4 separate regions of the Homo sapiens genome follow, and regions 1, 2 and 3 are each linked to region 4. Evidence: promoter capture Hi-C in 16 types of primary human blood cells and fetal thymus (Javierre and others, 2016). All regions are on one chromosome and are shown on one strand. Each heading gives the region's core, a stretch centred on a gene start or on the middle of the fragment in contact. The rest is flanking DNA. Distances are from core to core; before and after follow the strand shown. Region 1 overlaps DNAJC1 (DnaJ heat shock protein family (Hsp40) member C1). Region 2 overlaps PIP4K2A (phosphatidylinositol-5-phosphate 4-kinase type 2 alpha). Region 3 has its middle 6.1 kb from the start of PIP4K2A. Region 4 holds the start of COMMD3 (COMM domain containing 3).

Region 1 (3,386 bases), core at 877-3,376, 340 kb after region 4:
GAACAGGATTCATAATAAGCAGAATGCAAAAGTCATAGGACTTTTGACTGCAAAAGTCATAGGAGCAGACATATGCAGTTTTGACATATGACTGCAAAAGTCATAGGAGCAGAAAGCTTTGATTATTATCAAAAACAATGAAGGTGTCAAAGGCCTGGAACAAAGTTTGCTGTGGGTAGGTAAGAAAGAGAAGCTTGATAATCGTTTTATCCATTGTACCTTAGCCGGATTGACTTGCAGAAGGTAAAGCCATGGTGAAAAAAAAAAAAAGAAAAATTATAAATAAGGATATCTCCTTTACAGGTATTCTGTCTTTAGTTTACTTTCCATTATTTCTTACTTTATCCAGGTAGACCAGATCCAAGTACATGTATTCCCACTGTAAAACCATATATGGCTTCATATTCTGCAAAGTCACACCCTAAAAATAACAGTACCTATGGGAAAAATAGGGTTGAGGTACAGCGTTCAAAATCTGTGGAACCTTATAAGCACTCATGAAAATAATAATACTTTAAAAAATCAATTAAATCTCCTCTAGCATTTTAACCTGGCATCATAGTTCTTAAAATCCTTTAAACCCTTGTTCTCATGCTTCCTTATTTGGGATATAGATTCTTTAGATCAGTTGAATAAAAATACATATGATTCAGATAAGAGCCCTTTTGAAAATGAAGGAAATGTCTTTGCAGCTTCTTGAGCTGCACTCAGAGATTGATCAGATAGCTTTACATAGTAGAAACCATAGAAGTTCTTGAAGCCACAAAACCAGCTACTACTTATATTAATAGAAGGCACGTCTAATAGATTTCTAGCTGGTTTTTTTTAAAAGATCTTCATATTTTACTAAGGTTTTGTCTTTAATTGCAAGAAAACTTATCTTGGATCATTAAAAAAAAATGAATGTGCCAGGGGAAAAAAAAATCAAGTCGAACTTACATACCTAACTCTGCATTATAAGAATATCATTCCGCTGTTTACTAATTGTATATAAGATCATTCAAATTAAAAAAGTCATAGAGGTAATTAATCTGTAATAATCTGAGTAACCGATTACACCTCAGTGACAGTGTGTTTAGCCAGAGTCGGTATTTCCTATATATGTATTTTTTATAGCCTTAGATGTTTCTGATAACATTGTATAAACATATCACTTACTGAATTTACAGACTCTGAATAAATGGTGGCTTCATGATACAGTTTTTAAAAGTATTTTTACCTTAGGATTCTTGGGTCTTGTATCAGCTCTTGTGGGAAGTTTGTGTATGTTTCCAGTCTTTTCCCTCTTTTTCCTGTGACTCATTCTACTTCTTCATCTACTTTAGTAGTCACTAGCACTGCCAGGTTTTGTGGAATCTTTGACAGAAATGTAGGATTCCTGCCTTTTACATACAGGAAATAATTTGATAGTATTGGAAGACAAAATGTAATCAACTGATAGACTGCCACATGTTGTCTGTAAATACTAGGCCTGTGTGTGCTATTCCCTAGCATTGTCTGGCTTTACTGAAAGCACTTCAAGCTTAAGAAATTGCTGACCCCTGTCTTACTAGGTTCTGAGCCAATCTTTTCACTTGCTAATCGACTTTCCCACTTTACTGAAAGGAGAGGCTTTCAAATTCTATACTTTATCAGTGTATTAGTTCTACAAAATGTTGCTTCAAGAAATAATGGAAATTCTTAAAGAGTTTGCATGTTGTTGCATGTTTCTCTCTCCCTCTGTTCAAATTTCCCTCTTGATGGAGATGTGCTTCTGGGTGACTGGTTGCCAGGAACTTTTATGTTCATAAGTACTTTTTGAATATTGTATTACCTATTTAAAAAGTTAAGAAAAATCTATATATATTTGGATGATGAGGAATGAGATAGATGGAAGAACTTGTGAGGAGTGAAAGAGCTTTAGGAAGAGAAACTATTGAAGCTTATCTAAATTACAAAATAAGTCAAATGCTCCTATATAAAAAACAGACATTCTTATTGTTAAAAAACTTTTTGCTGTTAAATATCATCTAAATATTGGTTTGATGTACAAATGTAGAAAAATATCTTGGGCATAGATTTTTTTTCCCTTGTCACTTTGAAAAGAAATTTACTTATTATTTTTCTGTAGGTTTTTCAAAGAATTTTTATATTAGACAATCACATCAGCTTTCCAAAAGAGAGAAAACACTGATTAGGAACCCTCACTATCCAGGTGGGGAAGTGGGGATTTAAAATAATATAATGTTCATATGCAGGGTTGCACTATAACATAAGCCTCCTGACTCTTAACTTAAATATGTATTGGATGTGTTAAGATGTTTTTCTTTTATTTAATGTGAAAAAAGCTTAATAATTGACTGTTGGCGCCTGGGCATGTATATTTTGGTCCCCTGCACTGGGAATCAATTCTAAACTCAAGTTCAAAATTGGCTTCTGGAATTAGGGTGTTCAGCCTATAAATAGAGAGATATCTGTACTTCTTTAAGCCACACAAGTCTTTTCTTGGGTTTAGTTAGTAATTACTACTTTGGGAAATTATTTCTCCTTTAGAGTTGTTATTTTGATTCATATTTTAGTTCACGTGGATGTCTACAAAATAAGGAGTAAATTCTTGAAGAAAACCTGCTAATAGTTGTTTTATAGAAACTGAGCTTTGTAGATTAATTAGACTATCTAAATTGCAGCTTTTAGCTACATAATAAAAGTTTACTTGCATAGTCATTTTGTGTGTGTGTGTGTGTTTTTTTCATTTCTTAAGTGTGGTAGTTTTCTTTTTAAAAAATTGCTAAGATAAGGTCTTGAATGTTGTTCTGGTATTTAAGTACTGAGTCCTAGGATTCTACTTTTGTGTTTGTGAGAATTGCCGGGAGAGTAAGAGGCCAGCAGTGTGAGTGTCCACCATGTTCTCTACCTACGTACAAAGAAGCCTTAGTATGCTCTGACTCATTGATGAGAGCAAATTGGAGACTGTCACTGCTTTTTGCTTCTGTTGCTTACCATTGGCCCCATTGCCCCTTTACTGATGCTACTTGTTTTGATTGGTTGCTTTTGCAATGTTTGTGCTGTTGTTGTTACGGAAGAAAAGAGAAATAGGGGAGCCTAGTGGGTGGGCCGGCGGCATTCAAGAAGACTTAGAGAAAGGCAGAAGCTGCAGTGTTTGTCTCTTCCTCCACTGATTTTAACATGGCCACAGGAGTCATTAAACATAGCCTCTGTAGCATAAGGAAGGCAGAATTCTCTAGCTCGTTTGCGTTTTGTTGCTTAGTGGGAAGAGCTGAGAAAAAAAACAGAACTGGAAAACATCGCTTACTCCTAAAATGCAAGGGTAACCTTTTCAGACTTCTGTTGATTTTTGATGGGTTAAGAAATACAGTATGTACATATTCCTTTTAACTCTCCCCCAC
Region 2 (3,022 bases), core at 137-2,636, 340 kb before region 4:
ACAGAGTCTCACTTTGTTGCCCAGGCTGGTCTCAAACTCCTGGCCCCAGGTGGTCCTCCCTCCTTGGCCTTCTAAAGTAGGGATTATAGGTGTGAGCCACCCTCCTGGTGCACTGTTTTTTCAGTCCACTCATTTCTGTCCCCTGCATTTTCCTTGGGTAAAGCCCCAGGCCCACTTTTGCCGTAGCCTTCTTTGATTTGCTTTAATTTGAACTTTCACAGGTAAAACCTTTCATAGGTTTCAAAGCAGTCGCACACATCTCATTTGCTGCCTTGAGATATAGCTGGATGATGCCATCATCCCTATTAAAATATGTGAGGGGAGGGCTCAGAGGTGTTAACTGCCCAGAATTATACAACCCTGGTCTCCCAACTCCAGCTTGCAGGGCTTCCCCACCATGACCAGCAGCTGGACCAGACCCTTTCTTGGGAATGCACACTTGACTACCCCTGAATCACTTTAAAACTCACCTGTCTCTGAAGACATTGTTTCTCAGCGACAGCTTCACTAGCACTGTTTGGTCTTATTAACCCCTTTCCCTTCTGTTGCCCTTTTGATCCTGAAATCTTAGCCCATGTTAAGAACGCCTTTCACAGATGTCGTTGTTACTAAGATTCTCCAATTTTTAGCTTTTTGTACTTACGATTTGGATCATTTGCCCACTCTGAGTATCTATTTTTACACGTCTTTTTTTTCTCCACACATGGTAAATTCTTGGAAAGTGAGAGCTGTGTTTTTCATTTCCTTAATAGTGGATATTTCTGCTAGGGGGAAGTTTAATCTGAGTGAGTGTCCAGCTCACCTTGAGGAAATAAAATAATTCAACCTTGAATATTTTCATAGCATTTTTAAAAATTATGAGATTAAATTTTCCTGAAAAATTTACGGAAACATGTGTTTTTCAAAATTAAGTTGGAAATATTAATGGCCTTGGGCATCTGCGGCCAGCAAAGTCATTGCCATTCCAGAACCCCTCACTGCAGGGTTTCCTTTCGTCCATTTATTAAATCTAAGCCCCATAGTGAGGAGAGACACTGCTGCACTCACCAAAAAACCACTGTTTATAAAATGCTTGGGCACTTCAGAGACAGCAGCTGTTTTCTCTTGGTATTAACACCGATCTGCAGATTGCCAGTTCTTCAGAATACAGACCTTTCCCAAATCTCCACTAATTTTGTTTATTTATTTATTTATTTTGAGATGGAGTCTCACTCTGTTGCCCAGGCTGGAGTGCAGTGGCGCAATCTTGGCTCACTGCAACCTCCGCCTTCTGGATTCATGCGATTCTCCTGCCTCAGCCTCCGAGTAGCTGGGATTACAGTAGAGACAGGATTTCGCCATGCCGGCCAGGCTGGTCTCGAACTCCTGGCCTCAAGTGATCCACCCACCTCAGCCTCCCGAAGTGCTGGGATTACAGGGGTGAGCCACCATGCCCGATCCCAAATCTCCACTAACTTTAGGTGCGTAGGATGGACTGAGCAATTTTGGAAATTCCAAAGCACCAGGGCCCTACCTCCTTTCTTCTGTCTGCCTCCCCTGCCTTCCCAGTGTGCATCTGCTGAATTGAATCATTAAGAGAAAGATTAAGATGAGTGGAAGGTGAGCCTGTTGTTGCTGACAGTTCACTTTCCCCAGTGAAACTGTCAGGAAGACAAAGAGATGTTGAAGTTTTAGAGTAAGTGGCCCAGGGTCTTACGGTATCCTGCAGTGTGACACTGGGTAGAAAGAGGTGGAGGAGAAGGAAGGAAGTGGCCTGGCTTGGCTGTCATGCACTGCCTTCCTTCATTTCCTTACCTCCCACGTACTGCCCCCCACCTGAGGCAAGAGGGGAGGAGTTTTCACCTTTTCCATATCTTCTTCTTTATTCTTTGAAACTATTTTTCTTCTTAGAGTTGTCTTTGGTAGAGTGGCCCTTAACTTAGTGTACAGTATGATTCATACCCCCGGGGGTGGTCCTTTCTCATAAACCCTTCTTTCTTTTTTTTGAGATACTCTGTTGCCCAGACCGGAGTGCAGCAGCACCATCATAGCTCACTGCAACCTCAAACTTACGGGCTCGAGCCATCCTCCCACATCAGCCTCCTGAGCAGCTCAGACTGAAGGTGTGTACCACCACTCTCAGCTTATTTTTGTGGTTTTGTGGAGATGGGGGTCTCATTATGTTACTCAGGCTGGTCTCAAACTACTGGGCTCGAGTGATCCTCAAGCCTCAGCCTCCCAAAGCTCTGGGCTTGTAGGCGTGAGCCACTGCGATGGACCCTTCATAAACGTTTCAAGCAGCATTGAACCAGAACAAGGAGCAGCGTTTTCAGTTGGGAATTCATTGTGTATTTTTCATTAAGAACATAACATTTCTTAACTTAGATGTTTGTGTAACCTGAGTTGCAAGATGAATTTACCACACAGTGACAGACTTTAAATTTTTGGTTTTAATACACATTTGCGTATTTTAAAAGCAAATGTACCTTCAGCCTGTGAAATAATATGCTAGATAATTACAGGTACTTTGACTTCAGTTATGTCTTAGATTTATTATAACTACAGTGTTGATTACTACGAAGACATTGCTTTGCAGAGGGAGATGTCTCAAAATGTCACAATTCAGTGTTTTATTATCAGACAGTTGCTAAAGTGGATAGTTAAAAATTGAGGCCTGGCATGGTGGCTCACACTTGTAATCCCTGTACTTTGGGAGGATGAGGCAGGCGGATCACTTGAGGTCAGGAGTTCAATACCAGCCTGGGCAACATGGTGAAACCCTGTCTCTACTAAAAATACCAAAAAAATAGGCATGGTGGTGCGCACCTGTAGTCCCAGCTACTCGGGAGACTGAGGCAGGAGAATCGCTTGGCTTGAACCTAGGAGGCAGAGGTTGCAGTGAGCCAAGACCATGCCGCTGCACTCCAGCCTGGGTGACAGAGTAAGAGTCTGTCTCAAAAAAAAAAAAATTTGTGTGCAGTTTTTCAGTTATTTCATGACTATTAGTGGTTATTCAACACAAATTAAGCACTGTATCAGTTAC
Region 3 (3,415 bases), core at 271-2,770, 400 kb before region 4:
CAGACTAGAGTGCCACTGATCACAGTTCACTGCAGCCTCAATCTCCCAGGCTCAAGTGATCTTCCCACCTCAGTCCCTCGAGTAGCTGGGACCACAGGCACACACCACTATGACTGGATAATGTTTTATTTTTTATAGAGGCAGGGTCTCCCTATGTTGCCCAGGCTGGTCTCTAACTCCTAGGCTCAAGCAATCCTACCACCTCAACCTCTTAAAGTGCTGGGATTACAGGCATGAATCACCACGTCCAGCCAAACATTTAATTTTTGATTGACTATTTACTATCTTTTTTATCAATCATTATGCATACTTGTAACATAAGAAAAGCTAACTCACAAATTCTTTATATACGTAATGACTTTTTAAATACTAAATTTAAATTTAATAAATGGCAACATTTAGTCAAATGTTATTATTGATATCACTTTTGCAGTTTTCTTTTGTAATCAAAATTTTTGTTTTCACATCTCAAATTTTTTCTAGGTCCCCGAAAAACGCATAGGCTGTATGCATTGGGAAGATGATGCCCAATGGGTAAACAATTTGTAAACTTGCATAAGGACTCTTTGCGAACACAGGAGGTTCCCTTTTTCCTACATATAGGAAAATGTTCACCACAGGCTTAGTTCGCCATTGCCTAAATCATACAACGACTATTATAAATAGCAAGGAGCAAGTGAAAATGCTGGTCTCTTATTGGAATTGGGTTAGTATGTTAAATGACATTACTGTGTTACTTATTTAACTAGGAAAGATAGTTGCATTAAAAAAATTATAAAAGTAACACGTATGCATCTTATAACATTTGGAAAATGCAGAAATATATTTTAAAAATCATCCATAATCCTAACTGCACCCCTGATATAGCACTGTCAAAAGTATGCTCTGTTTTCTTTCAGTGTTTTACATGCACACACATTTTATAATACACTTTTTACTTTTTAAAAATTTTTAATTTTTATTTTGTAAAGATAGGGCCTTGCTGTGTTGCCCAGGCTGGTCTTGAACTCCTGGCCTCAAGAGAGCCTTCCACCATGGCCCCCTAAAGTGCAGAGATTATAGGTGTTAGTGCTATTTGGAAGCTTTGTGCTTTTTAAAAAAAGCTTTGTGCTATTAAAACCATAGCATATATATGATATGTATCCTATTTTTTCACTTATATTAATATCATGATTATTTTATGTCATTACATTTTCTGTGAAAATATCATGTTTATTGGATGCATTATATCCTGCCATGTGATCTCCCAATGTTGAAATTTCCATTTCTATAATAAAGAAAACTTTCATATATATATAAAGATATATATGATCAAGATATAATGTCCTTCACACAGCTTCCTGTCTTCCAGCGGGGGAGGCTAGCTCAAGTTCTCATGTTGCTGCTTGGGGAGTGGAGAAGGTGGGGTGGTCTGGGGAATGGTTAGTCTGCGCATTACCTGCTTTTTACTCCATCTTCTCCCAGTCCAATCTCCCCAAGTCAGGCTAACCAGACAGGAGTCAACTAACTGGTAGATTCCTGGAATGGCTGCCACTGTCCAGGAAGTCCCAGCCAGCTACAGAAGCCAGAAGAATCACCATCGATATTTAAATTGGAGTGGAAAACCCCAACTGGCTGGCACCAAACCACAGCCAGTCCAGGAAGTTTAGCCAGACCCCTGGAACTCCCAGAAAGCAAGCTGTGCTGCATCATGTCAATAGCTTATCCCCCCAAAAGTAACTCACTTGTCACAGTTGAATTTTTAGAGCCCATTTATTGCATTTGTAGCTTACTTATTGCCTTTTGGCTAGATTTGACAGCTTATGCACTTTAAGAATGGTCTTCCAACATAATAATTTTGCATGGCAAAGCTCAAGGTGACATTGTAGAAGGATGAATGGAATTGTCTCACATCTTGCTCTGATCTTTTCATAAAGCAAGGAAAAGCACAAAGCTTCCAAATAGCACTAAGTCAAAAAAGCTACCACTTCCCTTTTCTCAAGGAAGAATTGGAATTATTCGATTGATAGTATTTTTTTATTAAAAAGGGTAATATAAAAAATCAGAGCATCTACCCTATTCGACCTCTACTTCTGGTCTTGTATACCTTAGGCAACATAATATTTACACCATGTAGTTTTATACTAAATAAAGTTATTTATACTAAATAAAGATACTAAATAAAGTTGATTATAGTAAATGTAAGCAAAAACAAAACCACAACAACAAGAAGCATAAACAAGTCAGTATTGGGGGCTGGGCACAGTGGTTCACGCCTATAATCCCATCACTTCGGGAGGCGAAGGACGGGGATCACTTGAGGCCAAGAGTTCCAGACCAGCCTGGGCAACACAGTGAGACCTTGTCTCTACAAAAAAATACAAAAATTAGCTGGGCATGGTGGTGTGCACCTGTAGTCCCAGCTATTAGGGAGGTGGGAGGCAAGAGGATCACTTGAGCCCAGGAGGTTGAGGTTGCCATGAGCCATGATTATGCCACTGCACTCCAGCCTGGGGCACAGAGTGAGACCCTATCTCAGAAATAAATAAATAAATAAATAAATAAATAAATAAATAAATAAAACCAAGTCAGTATTGGGAACGTTTTAAATCTTCTTGACATGTCCTTCTTTCTTCTTAGTGAACTTGGCTGCTGGAGCCTTTCTTCCATTTGTGATGGCTTTGCCATCTGGATGTGTAACATCCCACCAGGCCAAATGCAAAAGGATGTGGCTGTTGAGGAGGGCATGGCATTCTTCTTGACTGACACAACCACATGCTCTTCTTGAAGTCACACTCCCTTGATCTTCCTCCTAGAGAAGGAAGATCTATGCCTCTCTTCCAGACCTTTGGCGAATGTTGATGGTTTGGCAGCTTGACAAGGTAAGCAGCTTGAACCAGGTGGGCTGAACCAAGAACAAGCAGGACATACACTTTGTCTCATTAGCATGCAAACCCCAAAGGAAAACAGCGATCAAATTGCTAGGTGGCTAAGTCCGCATGTAGTATCTAGCCCTCGAGTTTAAATATTATGTCTAGCCTAATTTCCTAACAAAGTATTTCTGAATGGAACCTTGCACAAAACATTTTCTGGCTACGCAAACTTTACATGTAACTTTGTTATGAGAGATAAAATATTCCTTTTTTCTTTATTCACCAAAATTTCACCACGGGTGCTATGGGAAAGGGAGTATTCAGGGTTCACTGAGACGCCCTAGAAGTGGGTACACCATGGTCCTTGCCTTCAAAGTTTCTTATTGCCCAAGAAATTACTTATTACATTTCTCTAGATATCAATTGTCTATCGAATGCATACAATTTGAGAATTGGATTACACATTTTGAGGTCACTTTGTTCTTCTTTCCTTTTCTTTCTTATTTTTAGAGACGGTCTCACTCTGTTGCCCAGGCTGGAGTGCAGTGGCACAATCAGAGCTC
Region 4 (3,312 bases), core at 567-3,066:
TAGTACTGTTAATTAAAAATTTTAAAGTAAGTAACCTGATATTCCGTGCAAAACAGTTCTATTCGCTCTCTGTCAAATTTACAGTCTTCTAGATAAGTGCTAGAAGAAAGAAAAAAAAAGCCAAAGTTCTGTCTCCATTTTTAAAACTGAAATTGAAATCATTAAGGTAGTATTTGAAAATAAATGGATATTTAAATAAATCCTGTACCTTAGAGTTGACTTGTCAGCTCGGTGCTTTCCTGCCTCTAGTATGTAAGTTGCAGCTGCTGCATGACAATGTTTTAAAACCACTGGGTCGATATGTTTCAAGTCTGGATGATCTAAAATAAATTAACTTCCAGTGATGCCTATGATAATAAATTCTTTACAGTCATGTTCCAAAAAGGATATTTTAATTTGGGTTTAAAAACCCTTTAACAAGATTAAAAACATCAACTATAAGGACAGTCAATTATAAGTAAATGAGATGAGCAACAAGATCAAGTGAAAAACAATAAAAAGAACACAACAAGAACTCTACTATTACTAGCTTCAATTAACTTATTTTGCCTTAATATTTTTACTATTAAAAAATATTATAGCCCCCAAAGAAAATATAACAATGCAATGGTCATTCTAACACTGGAGTAAATTCAAAGGAAAAACAAGATAAATATTTTACATTGTGTCAATTTTAGAATAAACTTCCATCCTAAAAATGATGAGTTTAGGGTAACCGGCTCCATGAACAAATACATCAAGGGGGTAGAAGGTAGGGCATGAGTTCAGAATATAAGATACAAATTTCAAAATTATATTAGTACTTTCAGGGTTTGACAGTCATTTTTTTTTTGAGATTAACCCAGGTGGTGGTTACTATTTTCGTTTAAGAACTTCCACTTTCATACTTTTTGTACAAGTGTTTAGTTCATGAAACTACAGAAAAAAAACAAAAATTTGAATTGTTGGGATATTTATATTTAAGAAAATCATCTAAAAGCGATCGGTCTTAAAATATGTCTTCAATCCATACTGACACTGCACCTCCGCAGTCACTGACCGGATCGCTTAAAAGACACTCGCATCCTGGTAACTGGGGCGGAACAAAGTATTGTGCATCATAGTTTAAGGTTCTAGGCGTAGAACCTGTGTAAACATGCTGAACTAGAGCGCTGGAGTGATCATAGCAACTTGAGGTATGCTCTAAGTTGGCAAATGTCAACACTGTCTGACCTAGTAATTACTTCGGAAACAGACCCTTAAACCTTTGCTAGCCTAGCCCTGGAAGCTTGAATTGCAGGGAGCTCCCCAGATGAAGTCCAACTGTCAAAACAGCCGCAGCCTCAGACAAGGCTAAACACCTTAGATGTTTAGGCCACAAACAAGACTTGAACACCGGCTTTACAAAAGAACAAAGAGACTGGGAGGGAAACCGGGCCAGGAACGTGGAGTTGGCTCTATGCAGGTGCCAAGTGGGGCCAAAACAATGCTCAGAGTCTGCTCCGAGTCCTGGCAGAGCCACGTCCCCAACACTCCGTCCGGAGCGAAGGGCAAAGCCCGGAGACTTCCTCTTCCCGGGGCTTTCCCCTTCTCGCTCCGCCGGCTCCTCTTCTCCGAGCGCCCCTCCACCCCGGCGGATCCAGCTCCGAGCCGAGCCGAGCGGCTTACCTAACACGGCCTCGTCCGCCTGGGCGTCCAGCAGACTCTGGAATGCCGCCCGGAGGAGAAGCGTGAAGGCGTTGGAGTCGAAGGAGCGGGGATCCGCCAGCATCTGGAAGCCTTTCTGCACAGACTCCGAGAGCTCCATTGTGAGCGCGCCGTGACCTTCGACACGCACACCACGTGACACGCGCCGCGCGCTCAGCTGATGCGGCCGCGCGCGCACGCGGCTCGGGGCGGCTGGCGGCGGCGCGGGCTGCGGGGCCTCCCCGCCCGCCTCCGCGCCCGCGCGCGGGTCCCGCGCCCCCAGCCGCCGCCTACGGCCTCCCACCGTTTCCGTCCAGCTCTCGCTTGTCCAGCGCAGGCCGCGGGAGCTGCCGAGCCTTGGCGAGAAGGGCGGCCTCGGGCGTTTTGTGGACGCGCTCGGCGCTTTCTCCTTGGTTCGGCGCTTACCTCGGACGGCCACCAGCTCGGTTCCCTGAGAGACCCCGGGGAGACTGCGGACGGTGTCGGGATCCCGGCCCCCGCCTCCCGCAAACGGCGTCCTCCCCGCTCCTCGCTCTGCGCGAATCCTGCGGGAAGCTCCGATCTCAGGCAACTGGATTTTGCTTTTGTGGTTTTTTGTTTGTTTTGTTTGTTTTTTAGCTCACCAGCTTAACCTCGCAGCACTGCCCTTTTATGAGACTGTAAGACATCTAATTATGTGATTCTTGCTTATTTTTACTTTTTTTTTTTTGTCATTTCTGGAATACGGCAGTAGTGTCCTTCCTGCATGGGGGGTGTGTACACATGCACGCATACATAGAGTTCCTGTATGCACTGCACTCCAGCAATCGGATTAATAAATTATTCATGAACAGATTTGACAGGATTATTAACAATTTTATATGCCGCTGCAAATAAAGCCAACTGCCATACACATTTTGTGCTACTCACCACATCTATGGGTCCCGTTTTAGTTGCTCTATAGAATCTGCATAAATACGTTTTTATTAAACAGCTACCTTAGTAAAGTACAGTTAGGAATGGCAAGATCTTTATTAGAAGTGAGTTACTGTTTAGGATGCTCATACCTTTAAAGATTCAAATACTGTATAAAGTTTAACTTCCTCTCTATTTCTACGAAGTTGGTTTAGAGAACAAGAATGATTCTTTAAAAAACCCGTGAAGCAAAGTAGATTAGGTATTTTTAATCAAAAGCACTTGAAAAGTTAAAAAATGCAAGTTCTTGAAGGGTGGAGGGAAGGGATGCGGAACAACAAAGATGTTTTAGTCTTCAGGAGCGATTATTTGCAACATTAGACCCAAAGTGAAACATTATTTTCTTTTTCTAACTTAGATGTCTGTTTTAAAAATTTTTGATGGATACAGTTGACATTTACCTTGGCACCAATACATAAAGTGTACCTCATTTCACAACAGGATGCAAATGGAGTAAGCATCAGTAACAGATTGAGTAACTACTCAGCCCTCCTTTGAAAGCTTTAAAAGGCACGTGCAGTGGCTCCTCACTCGGTGAGAATATAGTAGCAGTGAAGGATTTAAAAGTCTCCCTAGAGTCTTTATGAAACAAGCACCTATTAATCATGTTCATCTTTTCTTCCCATCACTCATCTTCCTAATTTGTTTCTCATTAGTAGTAAAATGTCAGTTGAAAAACTTCATGATACCTGA

Evidence for each region. The method cuts DNA at HindIII sites, captures the fragments that hold promoters and counts their contacts. A CHiCAGO score of 5 or more calls a contact.
Region 1: a contact is called between a fragment that was not itself captured here and the fragment with the promoter of COMMD3 in region 4, in 1 of 17 cell types (megakaryocytes). The highest score is 5.7, in megakaryocytes.
Region 2: a contact is called between a fragment that was not itself captured here and the fragment with the promoter of COMMD3 in region 4, in 1 of 17 cell types (activated CD4 T cells). The highest score is 5.5, in activated CD4 T cells.
Region 3: a contact is called between a fragment that was not itself captured here and the fragment with the promoter of COMMD3 in region 4, in 2 of 17 cell types (fetal thymus and neutrophils). The highest score is 5.6, in fetal thymus.

What each region holds. Positions count from the first base shown.
Region 1 is chr10:21,976,597-21,979,982 of GRCh38, reverse strand. All of the region lies in intron 1 of DNAJC1 (DnaJ heat shock protein family (Hsp40) member C1), which reads left to right. Among named protein-coding and RNA genes, the nearest start is that of DNAJC1, 25 kb to the left of the region's middle. The HindIII fragment of the contact is 406 bases long and covers 1,924-2,329 here.
Region 2 is chr10:22,652,049-22,655,070 of GRCh38, reverse strand. The region is part of intron 1 of PIP4K2A (phosphatidylinositol-5-phosphate 4-kinase type 2 alpha); the gene reads left to right. Among named protein-coding and RNA genes, the nearest start is that of PIP4K2A, 61 kb to the left of the region's middle. The HindIII fragment of the contact is 9,843 bases long and covers 1-3,022 here.
Region 3 is chr10:22,718,945-22,722,359 of GRCh38, reverse strand. No RefSeq gene overlaps it. Among named protein-coding and RNA genes, the nearest start is that of PIP4K2A, 6.1 kb to the right of the region's middle. The HindIII fragment of the contact is 830 bases long and covers 1,106-1,935 here.
Region 4 is chr10:22,314,892-22,318,203 of GRCh38, reverse strand. COMMD3 (COMM domain containing 3) reads right to left here and starts at 1,816. Exons shown (of 8, transcript NM_012071.4): 1 at 1,648-1,816; 2 at 209-320; 3 at 36-99. The coding sequence starts at 1,786. COMMD3-BMI1 (COMMD3-BMI1 readthrough) reads right to left here and starts at 1,816. Exons shown (of 14, transcript NM_001204062.2): 1 at 1,648-1,816; 2 at 209-320; 3 at 36-99. The coding sequence starts at 1,786. RefSeq lists an enhancer at 1,269-1,568 and a silencer at 1,839-1,958. The HindIII fragment of the contact is 1,853 bases long and covers 1,270-3,122 here.